3 separate regions of the Homo sapiens genome follow, and all the other regions are linked to region 2. Evidence: promoter capture Hi-C in 16 types of primary human blood cells and fetal thymus (Javierre and others, 2016). All regions are on one chromosome and are shown on one strand. Each heading gives the region's core, a stretch centred on a gene start or on the middle of the fragment in contact. The rest is flanking DNA. Distances are from core to core; before and after follow the strand shown.

Region 1 (4,346 bases), core at 1,420-3,919, 240 kb before region 2:
GCAGTCCTGGGATATGGAAGCTGGGCCACCTCTCTCGAGGGCATCTTTGTTTCCACGTGCATCAGCATGGAGGGACTAAATGTTGGCATGAGATTGTGTTGAGGGCACTGCTCCATGGCCCTCATGGGTGAACACATGACTGATACTGTTCCTGGACACTGAGGAAGCCCCAAATCACCTCCATTGTCTCTGCTTTGAGAGAACATGACAGGAAGAGGAGAGTGGTTATAGTTATCCTGCCTTCATTTTATGAAAGCATTATGACTTGTTGAAAGATGTTCCTTTGGGAGCTTTTACTAGCTTTCCATTTGAGTCATTGAGGGCTGACTGTCAACTTCTGCATTTGGAGAAGTGTTGACAAAGATTTAGTACCGTACAATGGAAAGAGAAATATTCTGGAGGCTTTGAACGGCCCAGCAAACATGAGCAGCCTGGGTGAACACAATTAGAACCCAATGCAGGGCTGAAGGAAAGCAGCGCCTGGCCGGGCTTCCGCTTGTCAGGTGGAGCCTTGTGGAATATAAATTATACAGCTGCTTTCCCTTGCTGGGCATGGCACTAGTTAATTACTCAACACAGATTTTGGCAAAGAGTGTTCTTTAAAGAAAAAAAATTAAGCCTTGTGTGGACTGCAATCGGGATTTATAGAAACATAGGATTCAGGAGGTGGACTTGCTGAGGGCGAGTCCCCCCTGCAGGCCCTGAAGACCTGTTACAGGTGGGATGTGGGCTGGTAGTGTACTTTCTGGAGATCTTTCCTGGACGCTGAACCTCAGGGTGGAGGGAAGCCCGTGTCCCGAGCTACACGAATCCTGCTCTTATACTGTCTTGTGTGGGATCCGCTATGCCTGAGGTTGATGGCAGAGTGTGCCTGTGCCCAGCCAAAAGCTTGAACCTACAGCTTCAAAAGGGCAGAATTGCCTCTTAAAAGGTCAAGTCAATGCATTAGGTTATTACAAAGTATTCACTTAAATTTAGTGAGAGTTAACAATGAGCCTCCTGGCTTGTGTTTACAGCTTTAAATCTTTTTTTTTAATTGAAGATATAAGGTACTGTTAGCAAAATTTACATAGAGTGAATTAGATGTAAAGTGTACAGTTTGTTGATTGTACACTGCTGATTTATAGATTGTACATTTAACAAATGTATAATGTGTACCTGAACCATGATATGGAATATTTTCTTCACTGCAGAAGGTCTCCAGTGCCCTTCTGCCATTAAAAACCTCATGGCTGTTTAAAGCTGCAGTGAACTTGAACACATGGATAGATCCTGCCCACCTCCAGCTGTTCTGGAGAACTCTGCTCAGTTGTCTGGTCCCTGTGCAGCCATTCCTGGTACCCCAAGCAGATGGACCAGGTGGCCCCTCTCCCCACACCTGTCTCCTTGCCCCGAGCCCTCCATGGTAGCCTTGACCTCCTGGGAGGGTGGTCCTCATCTGCATGTCTGTCTCCCTACTAGGCTGCAGATTGAGTCCTTGTGGCCGACTTCCCAGAACCTGCCCGGGGTCTGGCTCTGGCATGAGCTCAGCCAGTATTTTCTGATTGAGTGATCGAATGAAGAAACTTGCAGGTGATCTGGCTTATCTGCAAACAGGATGGTTTCTGCATTTGGCCTTAGCAGAGAGTCTCTTGTCAATAGCTGCTGCTCAAGCTGTAGCCTTTGGAATCTAAGTGTTCTCACTTCCTAGTCTTTCTCCAGCAGAAGTCCCCTGCACAAGCCCCCACCCCATCCTTTCCTCCTCTCTCCTTCCCACCTGCGGCCACTCCAGGACGTCCTACTGGTGCTACCCCTAACAGTGGACTTGAATCTGTCCCCTTCTTCCCTTCTCCACAGTCCCTGTCCCATCCCAAGTCACCACTATCCCTCCCCTGCACAAGCCCCAGACTGGTCTACCAGCATCCCCACTTTCTACCCAATCCTGAATATGGTCCTTGTCACATCTCTCCCCTGTTTAAAGTCTCCTATTGAGTCCTTGCTTCCTCCCTTCCTTTCTCACTTCTTTCATTTCCTTCTTCCCCTTTTCCTTTCCTCCCCCTCCCTTCCTTCCTCCTGCTTCCCCTCTCTTCCTTTTTTCTTTTTAAAATGTTTATCAAAAGCTCTGTATGTTTTGCTGATGTATTGCCTGGTTTAGCACAATCCCCCTAGTCCCCACACTAGAAAATAAGCTCCATGAAGGCAGGGATGGTGCCTTCAGTGTACATCTGGGTGGGCGCCTTGCGGGGTCCAGTCCCTTTCTTGGCACCAAGGAGATGCTATTTGATGGGCACATGAATGAACTTGTGGGAGGGGGGGCATCTATGTTTCTGTAATGGGAATGATAGAAGACACATTTTAAACTATCCCCCAGAAATGTCAGAGCTTTTGGGGAACCTGTAGCCAGTTTCTAAGAGAAAAATGCACAGGATGGTGCCGTGTCACCTAAGTGATCCCCAGTAGGGTCAGGGTGGGACTTGGGGTGGGGGTGGGGGATTGTGCTGGTGACCACATCCTCCCTGTGCTGCGGGAGGGTGGGTAAGGACGCTGCGAGGGCCCCGCCCAGCGATGCCGCTTCTCTGTGTGTTGTCCTCCCCAAGTAAATGCAGTTTTAGGATAACATTGCATAAAGCACAGAAATGTGAGAAAAAGTAAAATCTGACTTGAATAATAGTCTCTCTTCTAATTACAGAAAGCTGTGTGGTTTGAAAGGAACAGAGTTTTCCATTAAGAGGTCTCTAAAAATAGTCTTTGTGAGTTGAACTGCCTTCTCCAGTTTCAGCCTGAATGTTAATTACACTAGCAAATCGTGTTGGCAGCAGGAGCAGGTATGTCTACCACACCGCTGTGGCAGTCTCTCGTAAACACTCGGTGCTGATGGAAGCCCTCCTGGAAACTCTACTATTTAGAACACACATGCACACACCGTGCTTCGTGTTTCCTAAGGTGCCTCTCAGCATGAACTTTGCATCAAACTTGTAGGGCAGAAACTCGTAAATCCTTTAGGTGAACTTCAGATGGGTAGCAGGCATCCACCAGGCAGCTTCTGGGCAGTTGGAAATTTCACCTGAAGAAGACAAGAGCTGGTTATTGCAAGGGAGGCAGCCAGACATCCACCTGGAAAGCAGCAAAGACATCCTCCCTAATCTCTTGATCCGGCACAATTTGGGGGTTGCTTTCCATCCTGGTCCTTGGTTTGGGACTCTGCTTTCTCTCCTAAAAGTGCATGGGGATGGCTTGAATCCTGAGGCCATGTGAGAAGTTTCTTGCATAGATTTCCTGTCTTTGGAAGGCCCCAGATCTTTTGGAGCCAAGTTTGGGGGTCTTCAGGGCACATGAGGCGAAATGAAGTATTTATTTCTGATTACTTTTTCAGTTTGGCATTCCACAGTGAGGAATTTGCAGTTTAAGTTTTATGAAGTGTTGCAGCTTCTGGATTTAATTTAAATTTTATTCCAATATCATGCACACATGCTCAGAACCTCAGAGGCAGCTGAGTGAAGCTGACATGATTTATAGCAAGGGTGTTTGGGGAACAGTGATTTGGCAGATCCATTAAGATCCCGTAGCTGTCTGGAAGAAAGGTGCTGTATCTATGAGAGTGAGGAGGCTACTGTGGGTGAGGAGGAGGAGTGAGCTGGCCTTGACTCAGCATTGGGCCTGACATTTACGTAGCGTTTCATTTTGTGAAGCACCTTGGTTCCATCTCTCTTCTAGGTAGACATTAGTGTCTCATTTTATAGATCAGGACACAGAGGCTCAGTAAGGTTAAAGAACGAGGTTAGCCTGTAGTGTGCCCATGTTGCCCTTCGGTCACATTTCTGAGGACTTCTGGGATGAAATGCATGGACTTGGGGATCCGGAGTGGGAGATGGGTGCAGGAGCAGACAGGGGGAGGCTTTCTGGAGCTGGCAAGGCTATGCCTGGCAGTGGGATGTGAGAGCAAAGGTGCGGGCCATGTGGATGACCTGCCCCCACTTCAGTACCTGGGCGTCACTGGCCGAAGGAAGAGTGGACAGACCGTCGGGAGGTGGGGCTTGGCCTGTTCACATAGAACCCGAGAGCCAGAGCTCGGGCTCTGGACATCAGCCTCAAGGTGGCCTGGAAAAACCACAGGGCTTGAGCGTGTCTCCTGAGGGGGAGATGGCAAAGGCAGCGTTTCTGGGTGAGGAGTCAGAACGCAGGAGATGGAGGATGACTGGGTGAGGGTGGGGTGGGAGGCAGGAAGGCGAGAAACAGAAGAAACTACAGGCAAGAGGGCTGGGAGGGGACCCCCAGGATGGTCTGACCCTGGCATCACAGAGACGGCTTCGTGAATAGGGAGAAGCTGCGTGGGAAGGAGCAGTGGGAATGTACGGTCACATTAGGTG
Region 2 (4,573 bases), core at 828-3,327:
TGCTCTCAGTCACTCACATGTACATTCTGTTCCTGAATCTGTGGGGATTCTGTGGCTGGAAGATTGGTCCAGTGTGTAATCAGGAATGGCTGTGCTCAGGGGGACAATGAACACGTGCACACTTGCCCTTCAATGTGTCGGCATTGTGAAGGTCAAGGACTGCTTGTTACTGCTCTCGTGCAGGAAATACTCAGAATGCTCAGCCTGACACCTCCAGCCTGTCCCCTTCAACCCTGGTGTGGAACATATCCACCAGAGGATAGAGCTTCCTCTGCCCCGAGGCTCCCCTGGGTTCCCAGGGTTCTCCCACACGGAAGGCCCTCGCTGGCCCTGTCAGAGCTCTCTGCCTGCCTCACCTGCGACACCATCTGGACCCCAGCACCCCCTTATCTAGGGTCCCAGGACACAGAGCAGGGAGCCTGCCTTCCCCTGGGACAACAGGATGTAAAATAGCAGAGTCCAGACGCTGCCAGCTGTTTCCCTCCTCGATTTCCTATTCTCCTGGGGAAAGCTGAGGTGAGCTCAGGACAGCGCAGCTAAGAGTTCCCTCCTTCTCTCCCTGACAGGCTCCTGCGATGGCAGGGGTTCCCAGAGGGTACCCATGCTTGCCCAGCTCCATCTGCCCTCCTGAGAACAGCAGCCAGCGTGACGACGGAGGTGGGGGCAGATTCAGCCCCAGGAGCCTTGGGGCACACTCCTTCTGCAGGAGCCTCTAGGCACCAAGTCAGGCAGACATTGGACAGTGCTCTCTGGGGAGGGCAGGAAGAGCCCCCCACCCCACCCCTCAGGGCCCACCACAGAGAAGGACGCAGCCCGAGTCCATCAGAATTCACACACACACACACACACACACACACACACACACACACAGTCGTGAGACAGAGGCAGCGCCACACACCCGAGAAGGGAAAGACTCAGAGAAGCGACACACTTGGGTCTGAAAAGCTCTTAAGGAGCTCCCTAAGCATCGAGGCCGCCCTCTCGGCCAGAATCAAACACTTTGAAGGTCTTTAATAGGGAACAAAGACCACGGACTTCCCATGTGCCATTTAAAGTGAAAGCTACAAACACAGAAAATGTGCATGAAGAAGCCCAACAGAGTTCTGACTGTCTGTGATTTCTACCCTGATGCTTCAAAAACCGATGTATAGATGGGCTCACCCGCATTTTTTGTGGCCCTGGTTTGCTGATACCCTAAGCACCTCCTTAAGCCCCACAGCTGGGCCGCTTTCCCCACCCTCGAGTTCTCAGAAGAAACAGAGGCTCGGTGGAAAAGAGCCCCTGGGGCTAGGGACCTCCCACTCCCGCCGAGATCCCGCGCGGCTGTTCCCAGAGCCTTAGCTGCGCTCGGCTCACCTGGGGTGCAGGTCCACCAGCAGCACCAGCGTCTGCATGGTGATCACGTCGATGCGCTTGCAATGGAAGCGGGCCACCTTGAGCACCTTGAGGTACGTGCAGCAGAGCACGACGAAGGAGAGCAGGAAGCTGAGAGCGTGGAAGGCGCCAGTGAAGACGGCGAAGCGCAGGCGCTCGTCTGGCCGCCGGCTGCACAGCGTGCACGAGGCGTACAGCTGGTGGAAGCCGAGCCAGGACAGGGCGAGCGCGGCGGCTGGGAAGGTGAGCGCGTGCAGCCACGTGTAGGCCACCATGAGCGCCGCGTCGCGGAGGCGCATCTTGGCCCGGTAGCTCAGCGGGAAGACCACGGCCACCCAGCGGTCGATGCTGAGCGCGGCCATGCTGAGCATGGAGTTGGCAGCCAGGAAGGTGTCGAGGAAGGCAGCCAGGCGGCACAGGCGGTCGCCCGCCGGCTGCCGCTGCGCCACGACGCCGGCCAGCGTGAGCGGCATGTTGACCACGGTGCACAGCAGGTTCCCGCACGTGAGGTTCAGGGTGAAGAGCGCCGGCGCCTGGCGGCGGATGTCCGCGCTGTGCAGCAGGCAGAGCAGCACCAGCGCGTTGGACAGCAGCGAGACGCCCATCGTGCCCACCAGTAGCCCCGCCAGGCCCGCGTCCCACGAGTTCATGGTGCGCGCCCCGCGCCGGCGCTCAGGGTCCGCAACCCGGCGCCGCCATGGCGCTGCCCGCGGCCGGCTCAGCCCCTCGGCGCCGCCGCCGCCCGGCGACCACCGGCCCCAGCCGCCATGGCTCCCAGGAGGGCGCGCGGCCACCCCGGAGCCTCAGGCGGCCTCCCGGGCAGGCGTCTGGGCGCGCAGCCACCCGGGAGCCCCGCGCCGCCTCACGGGCAGGCACCTGGCGCGCGGCAGTGAACCCTGGCCCCCAGCAGCACCTCTGGAGCCAGCGACTGAGCGTGCGGTAGAACCCGAAGCCTTTAGCGCCCCGGGATCCTGGGTTGCAGGCACCTGCGCCCCTGCTCCGCCTCTGCCTCTGCTTCCTCCCGCTCTCACCCCATGCCCGCGAGCTCTGTCTCCGCTCCGCTCCGCGCACCCTCCCGCTCTCTTGCTTTCTCTCTTCCTCCCTCTCTGCTCTCTGGCTCGCTCTCTCTCTCTCTGCTCTCCCCTCCACCTCTCTCCCTCTCCCCGCCCCCCGCGCTGTTCTCTCCGTCTGTCTCTCCCACCCCCAATTTTCTCCCCTCTCTTGTTCTTCCCCCTCCTCTTCTCTCTGTCTCTGGAATCTGGCTGCTTCTATCACAGAAATCCCCACTGGTGCACACACAGACACACTCGCGCACACACACTCACACTTACAGGCTCGGAGGGAACCAGCCCCGAAGGCTCCGGTGCAGGGTGATTGGCTCACTGTGGCTCCCTTCCCCCAACATCCTCCATCCCCCCGTGTGTGTCAAAGACAGGCTGAGTCAAGGAAATCTCTCTGAGAAAAGGAAGGGATGCCTGGACACCTTCACGCCCCAGTGCCACCTGTCCCCGCCTGCATGCTATCCTGGCAGACCTTGACGTGAGTGTCCCAGCCTGTCTGTCCCAAGAACAGCTGCTGCATGACTGAGGTTACTCGATTCTCAGTGCCTTCTTTCCCTCGCCCTACAGCCAGAGCTTCGGCTGAATCCTAAGCCTGCTGCAGGGACCCCGAGGCTCTCTGTAACATCCCCTGGGCATCTCTCCAGCTGGGAGATGCCTTTGCTGACCCTGACTGCTCCCACCTGGGCAAGCCAGGCTGTCCACAACCAGCCTAGACAGCTAACCCTAGTATGGTGGATACTCTGTTGTCCTGCTCCAAGTTCCAGCAGCTGCCTCCTGTAGCCCTGAAGCCACACACCCCTCTGCCCTGAGACTGGTGAGGCAGCACATTCTAGTTTATGAGGGACCTGCCTGATATAAGGTGCCAGAACTCTTCAGAAAATGGGGAGGGTGTCAGCTGGCAGGCATGGTCCAAGCAACAGAGACCCTGGACACAGGGGACCCCTGCCTCCCCTCAGCAAAGTGTGCAGGGACTGTGGCCCTTCGGTTCTCAACCAAGACTCTGTGGGGAAGGGGTGGGGATGGACAGGCAGGGGCAGCTCTCAGAACCCCTGCAGCCCCCTTCAACTCTGTGAGATGCTGCCCTGCAGTGACCCCCTGCACCATGTCAGCAACCTCAGATCCCTGTCCTGGACATAGAAAGCCCTGTTCTGGAGCCTCCTGGTGTGGCCAGTGGTGACTGGACATTCCTGGGCCTCAAGCCACTAGATAAAGTAAGCCAAGCAAGGACGTGGTGGACTCTACGCCCTGAAGGTAGAGACCTCATTATACTTAATTATCTCCTTCACATAGTACCAAGCACATTGTAGATGCTGTATTGTGCCATTTTTCTTTGCTGTAAAGGAATACCTGAGATTGGGTAATTGATGAAGAAAAGAGGTTGAATTGGCTCATGATTCTGCAAGGTATGCAATCATGGCTCCAACATCTGCTCAGCTTCTGATGAGGGCCTCAGGAAGCTTCTAATCATGGCAAAAGGCAAAGTGGGAGCAGGCATGTCACATGGCAAGAGTGAAAGCCAGAAAGAGAAGGGGGAGGTCCCAGGCTTTTAAACACCATATCTCTCATGGACTGAGAAGTCATTCAGGATGGTGCCAACCCATTCATGAGGGCTCTGCCCCCATTATCCAATCGCCTTCGCCTCCCACCAGGGCCCACCTCCAACATTGGGGATTATGTTTCAACATGAGATTTGGAGGGGACAAACATCCAAACTTTATTAAATGCTCATGAAATGAGGTGTCAGGAGGGCAGAAACAAGATTCCCTCTCTTCTCTGTGTGTCCACAGATGACACTCATTGACAGTTATCTGAGTGACTGACAGCTGCAGACAGTGGAGTTCTGAAGCCAGCTCACACCAGCTCAAAAGGGCCCATTATGGGCATCTCTCTCCATCTCTGCTTCAGTGACAGCATGTTGGTTGCTTAAAATCCACCACAATGAGTTTTTGCATTATAGAAATCAGCAAACTCCATAGATCAGGGCTTCTCCCACCCCAGCCTGTGGTTAAACATTTAACGACACACCACTCACTGATTTCATAGGACCCTGGGCAACTTACTCAACATCCCTGAGGCTAGGTTTTCTTATTTACCTTTCAGAGCCGTGGTGATGACTACATAAGGTAATGTGTACGTTT
Region 3 (4,397 bases), core at 153-2,652, 220 kb before region 2:
CACTTATCTCTGCATTGGATTGTTTTGGAATATCTTAGGAAGGCACTTACATAGGAAGGAACATTGGACTGTGGCCTGGAGTGTTTAATGCAAACTTCTGTACTTTGCTTCACTGGGTGGATGATGCAATGCTATGTATGAGGCACTGAGGTGGGAGTGAGGGGTTCAATTTAGAGATGCATAACAGTATAAAAGCATATATAACTAATTAAAAGTCTATATGTACTTTATCTTTGCAGATGATAAAATATTTCCCAGATAGCTCTTGTTTTGCATAAAGGTGAGTGCAAGGAAAGATGTATTCAGCAGTGATTCCCCACACAGGCAGATTTTCTATGTGGTAGGCCCTAGGAGGGAGCCCTGTTTTAACCCTGTAGCGGGGTTTATGCAAGGAGCCAAGGGCATTGGGGATTTGATCTTGATGTGGGTTCTGGCTTTGACCATTGGCTGTTCTTTCGCACCACCACAGAAATGCCCAATGGGTGTGACATGCTGACATTCATGGAGATGCTTGGAGAACTGAACCCTTTGGCTAACTGAGAGTATTGCATTTTCCATGAGTGGCTAACAGGTTTCCAGAGAAGTAGAGCCCCAATATATTAAACAGAATGGAATCTTTAAAAACATTTATTTAAGCTTTTATTTTGAAATAATTATAAACTCACAGGAAATTGCAAAAATAGTACACTGAGGCCCCATGTACGCTTTGTCAGCTCCCCCCAGTGATAACCTCTTAGATGATTCTAGTACAAGATACTTCAATCTTGGCAGGATTGATGTTTTGGGCCAATTGTGTGTTTGTTTGTGTATGTGTGTGTGTGTGTTGTGTGTACGTGCCAACAGAGGAGGAAGGGGGTTGCCTTCCTGTGTATTGCAGGATGTTTAGCAGTGTCCCTGGACTCCAAATTGGATGCCAGTAGCACCCTCCCCCCTGTTGTCACAACCAAAAATGTCTCCAGACATTGCCAAATATCCCCAGGGGGATGGGAGTCACTGTTGTATACAGTATCAAAATGAGGAGGTTGACAGTGATACTGTTAACTAGATTACATGCCTTACTCAGATTTGACCAGTTCTTACATGCATTTGTAGGCATGTTCTCTGTAGTTTTTATCACATGTACAGGTTCATGGAACCACCACCACTGTCAGGATATGGAACCGTAGAATCTTTTTCTTAGGTTGCAGTAGGATTTTGGTACTGTACAGTTTCTGAGGTCCTCATTGTGAACACTCATCCATCCGAGAATTTTAGAACTCTAAGGACCTAAGTGGACACTGAGCACAGATTCTTGCTTATTGCGAGATTCTAACAGTGAGCTGCCCGGCCTCTGCTCACAGGCTTCCATGGATGGACTCTCACCATTCAGTGGATGAAGAGTACTTATTGCTAGAATGTTCTTCCTCATATGAACTTGACAACGTTCTGCTCTCTAATTCCATTTATTTAGCTGTTTCGAATTGAATTTGACAGTTTCTAGATCCCTGCAGTTGGAATGATTTAAGGCCACGGGAGTGAATCTCAGGTCCTCAGTTTTCATTCTCCCAGGGTTATGAATAAGGTAAGGGGCCACATTTTGCACGTGCAAGTGGATTTGGGGGTGTCTTACTTTCCATGCCATCTTCAAATTGATGACCCTGGTTTGCAGCCATATTCCTTTTGAAGAATAAAATAGAACAGAAAAATAAACCATAGTTATAGAACTTATCCTTTTCCTCCCACTTGGCAGTAACAATCAAATCAAATAATAAGCTGAACTATTGATTTGAATGAGGGATTTGAAGATTTTATTTATTTCTCTCTTCATTGCACATTGGGTTAGAAGTAGGCTTGGATATGTAGTCTTTAAATTTGAGTTTCTGCTTGGTCCTTTGTTCATAACTTTCTTCCTGTGCTGGTGAGAATGCACCGCTGTTTGAATGTGGACAAACCCACATCATCGCCATAGTCTTGAGCCCGTGGAATTTGCAGAGGGGGCAGCGAGCCACGTTTGTTTGTGTGTCTGTGCTCAGAATCATTGAGTTTGCATTTTGTACTGTGCTGGGCCCCAGTTGCAGGGGGAAATAACCAAAGAGTTGTTCTTTGAGCATATTTGGTTGTAAACAAAGCCTTTTCTGTTGTGTGTGCCGTAAGCCAGTTGGTGAAAAGGGCTTCACATTTAAGCTTTCCTTCTCTTTTCAGTGTGTTTTGCTGCATTTGGCTTTTGGATGGAAATGTCTTCTCCTGGGCAAAATGGGAGTGTGTAAGGATTAGGAAGCTGTGTTTGTAAATATTTCAATAAGTACTTTAAAAAGCAATCACAATGCTATTAGCATACCTAAACAATTAACAAGCAATCCTTCATGTCAAATTATATGCTTACTTTAAGAGTTAAATCCAAAGTGTTTTGTCCAGGTAAACTCCCTATAGAATTCCAAGGGAGAGGACGTCATTTCCTGTACATTAGCAAGCAGCTTTCTAAGACACCACCTCCATTTCCAAAATGCTTTCCAAAGTCAACTATTAATGCTGGCAAATTTCCTCTTGCCTGTGCCCAAGGTTCCAGAAACCAGGGCTCGCGCATGGATAATAAAGGAGGACACACCCACGTTTGCGAAAGCTGGACTGCATGCTGTGGTTCTTAAAAATAGCCACTGTGTTTTCTGTATGCCTCAAGTGTCCATGGCTGCTAGAGCTCATGGCACCTTTAGTGTGGGGACAATGGCAGCCTGGCCCTGGAGCCTTGACTTTTGAGGTGGAGGTTTTCTCTGGATGTCCCTGAGGGTCCAGGGAGCCTGAGCATTCAGGCTTGGCATCTCCAGCAATGGCTCTGCCCTCTGTGGCCCTCTCAGGCCCCAGCCACTGCAGCTACCACTCTGGGGTCACAAAACCCAGGAAATTAGGGTTTCTTTGGATGGCCACTGGAAGGGCTGGCATCCACATCTGGCTGGCAGCCAGCTGGCTACTCGTTGGGCATCATAGGATGGTTAGCATGGCACAAAACAGCTTCACATGTTAATTTAAGCCCCTGATGTCACAGATTTGTATGGAATGCCTGGTTCATGCTAGGCACAGGTAGGTGCTCCATGGTGAGTTTTTCCAGGATGAAGAGAGAGCTGAGGTCAAAGTCTGGTTCTGCCACTCATGGGCATTTGTGACTTCTCCAAGCATCAGTTCCTCACGATGGCATGGGAACAATTAATAACCCGAGCTTTTGGAGGAGGTGTACGATTGGAGGGGTCAATGCCCAGCCTTCCAGCCTCCCAGCCTCCCAGCCTTCTAGCCTCCCAGCCTCCGGAGTGGGGCAGCTCAGAGGCATCTCCCCTCCCAACCCCACCCTGAGTCCCCAGCCAGGTTGAGTCCCCGTTGAGTCCTGCCAGACAACACAGCCTGAGTTATTGGTGTTTCCCCTTCAACTTTTCACCTGTGCTACTTGAAATCTCCTCCCACATACAGCACTGTGCCCAAAGCCTTCTTGTCTCAGGCTGTTTCCAGGTGGAATCTAAGATGAGACTGGCAGGTACCAACAGCTCCCTGCACAGTGTCTGCACACACCCACCTGCTGCTGTTACCAGGGTGTCTCTTTAAAGGCAAAGGACTCTATTTGGTTGCAAGTCAGAAAGGTGGCTGCTGGCTGCACAGAGGGCAAGAGTGGGGGCCACAGGGCACTGCTGCCCCAGCCATGCCCACTCTTCCTTATGCCCAGATCTGAGGCCAGGTCTTCTGCATGAAAGGCTGGCCCAGAGGAGGGTGGGACTGACCAGGCAGGTATCCCAGAGAAGACACAATGGAGAGAGAGAGAAAGAGAGACAGAGAGAGAAAGAGAGAGAGAGAGATGGGCCATGGGATTTTGATGGATTGTTTGATTGATTGATTTTGGTCTAGTTTTGGTAAGAAGTTCTTAGACAATTTCATGAGTACCTCCATGTCCAGCCCACAGCCTCCCCCCGGGCTCCCGTCAAGGTCATTGAGATGGATAGAAGCCAGCGCATCAGTCCACTGCTCAACTCGCCCTTCAGGACCCACTGAATCCCTGGATTCTTATTTCCTCTGGGAGCTTCCAGTCCTCAGAATTGGATAAGGGTGCAGGTGATTCCTCCCTGTGTCATGGCCCTTTCCCTGCCAACATCGCACAGAGCAGGCGTTTCTCACTGCTTTTGTTTAGATTTTCATGTTCACCTGTGAAGTTCTCCCGGCTCTCCCTGTGTGAGGGTTCCCAGCAGATCCTCCCAGCAGATCTGGTGTGTTTGTGGTGATTTAGCCTTAATGCTGCAATTCTGGGGAGCCCCAGAGAACCTCTTTGGTCATTTTTTTCTCCTAATGTGGGTTCCTTAAGCAGAAGCAGACAAGGACCTCAGAGCCCTGGGCTGGGTCCTTTACTACAGGAATGCAGAGCCTGTTGGACTGGAATTTCCTGG

The links. The method cuts DNA at HindIII sites, captures the fragments that hold promoters and counts their contacts. A CHiCAGO score of 5 or more calls a contact.
Region 1: a contact is called between a fragment that was not itself captured here and the fragment with the promoter of GPR26 in region 2, in 1 of 17 cell types (endothelial precursors). The highest score is 6.3, in endothelial precursors.
Region 3: a fragment that was not itself captured here is called in contact with the fragment with the promoter of GPR26 in region 2 in 1 of 17 cell types (endothelial precursors); the score reaches 6.3 in endothelial precursors.

Annotation. Positions count from the first base shown.
Region 1 is chr10:123,905,635-123,909,980 of GRCh38, reverse strand. It overlaps LOC105378534 (a long non-coding RNA gene), which reads right to left. Exons shown (of 3, transcript XR_001747622.2): 3 at 1,014-3,043. It also overlaps a transcript of CPXM2 not described here. Among named protein-coding and RNA genes, the nearest start is that of CPXM2, 16 kb to the right of the region's middle. The HindIII fragment of the contact is 3,557 bases long and covers 891-4,346 here.
Region 2 is chr10:123,663,859-123,668,431 of GRCh38, reverse strand. GPR26 (G protein-coupled receptor 26) reads right to left here and starts at 2,077. Exons shown (of 3, transcript NM_153442.4): 1 at 1,357-2,077. The coding sequence starts at 2,024. RefSeq lists enhancers at 1,255-1,792, 1,793-2,331, 2,332-2,869. The HindIII fragment of the contact is 9,100 bases long and covers 1-3,894 here.
Region 3 is chr10:123,884,133-123,888,529 of GRCh38, reverse strand. All of the region lies in intron 1 of CPXM2 (carboxypeptidase X, M14 family member 2), which reads left to right. Among named protein-coding and RNA genes, the nearest start is that of CPXM2, 5.5 kb to the left of the region's middle. RefSeq lists a silencer at 4,043-4,337. The HindIII fragment of the contact is 1,527 bases long and covers 639-2,165 here.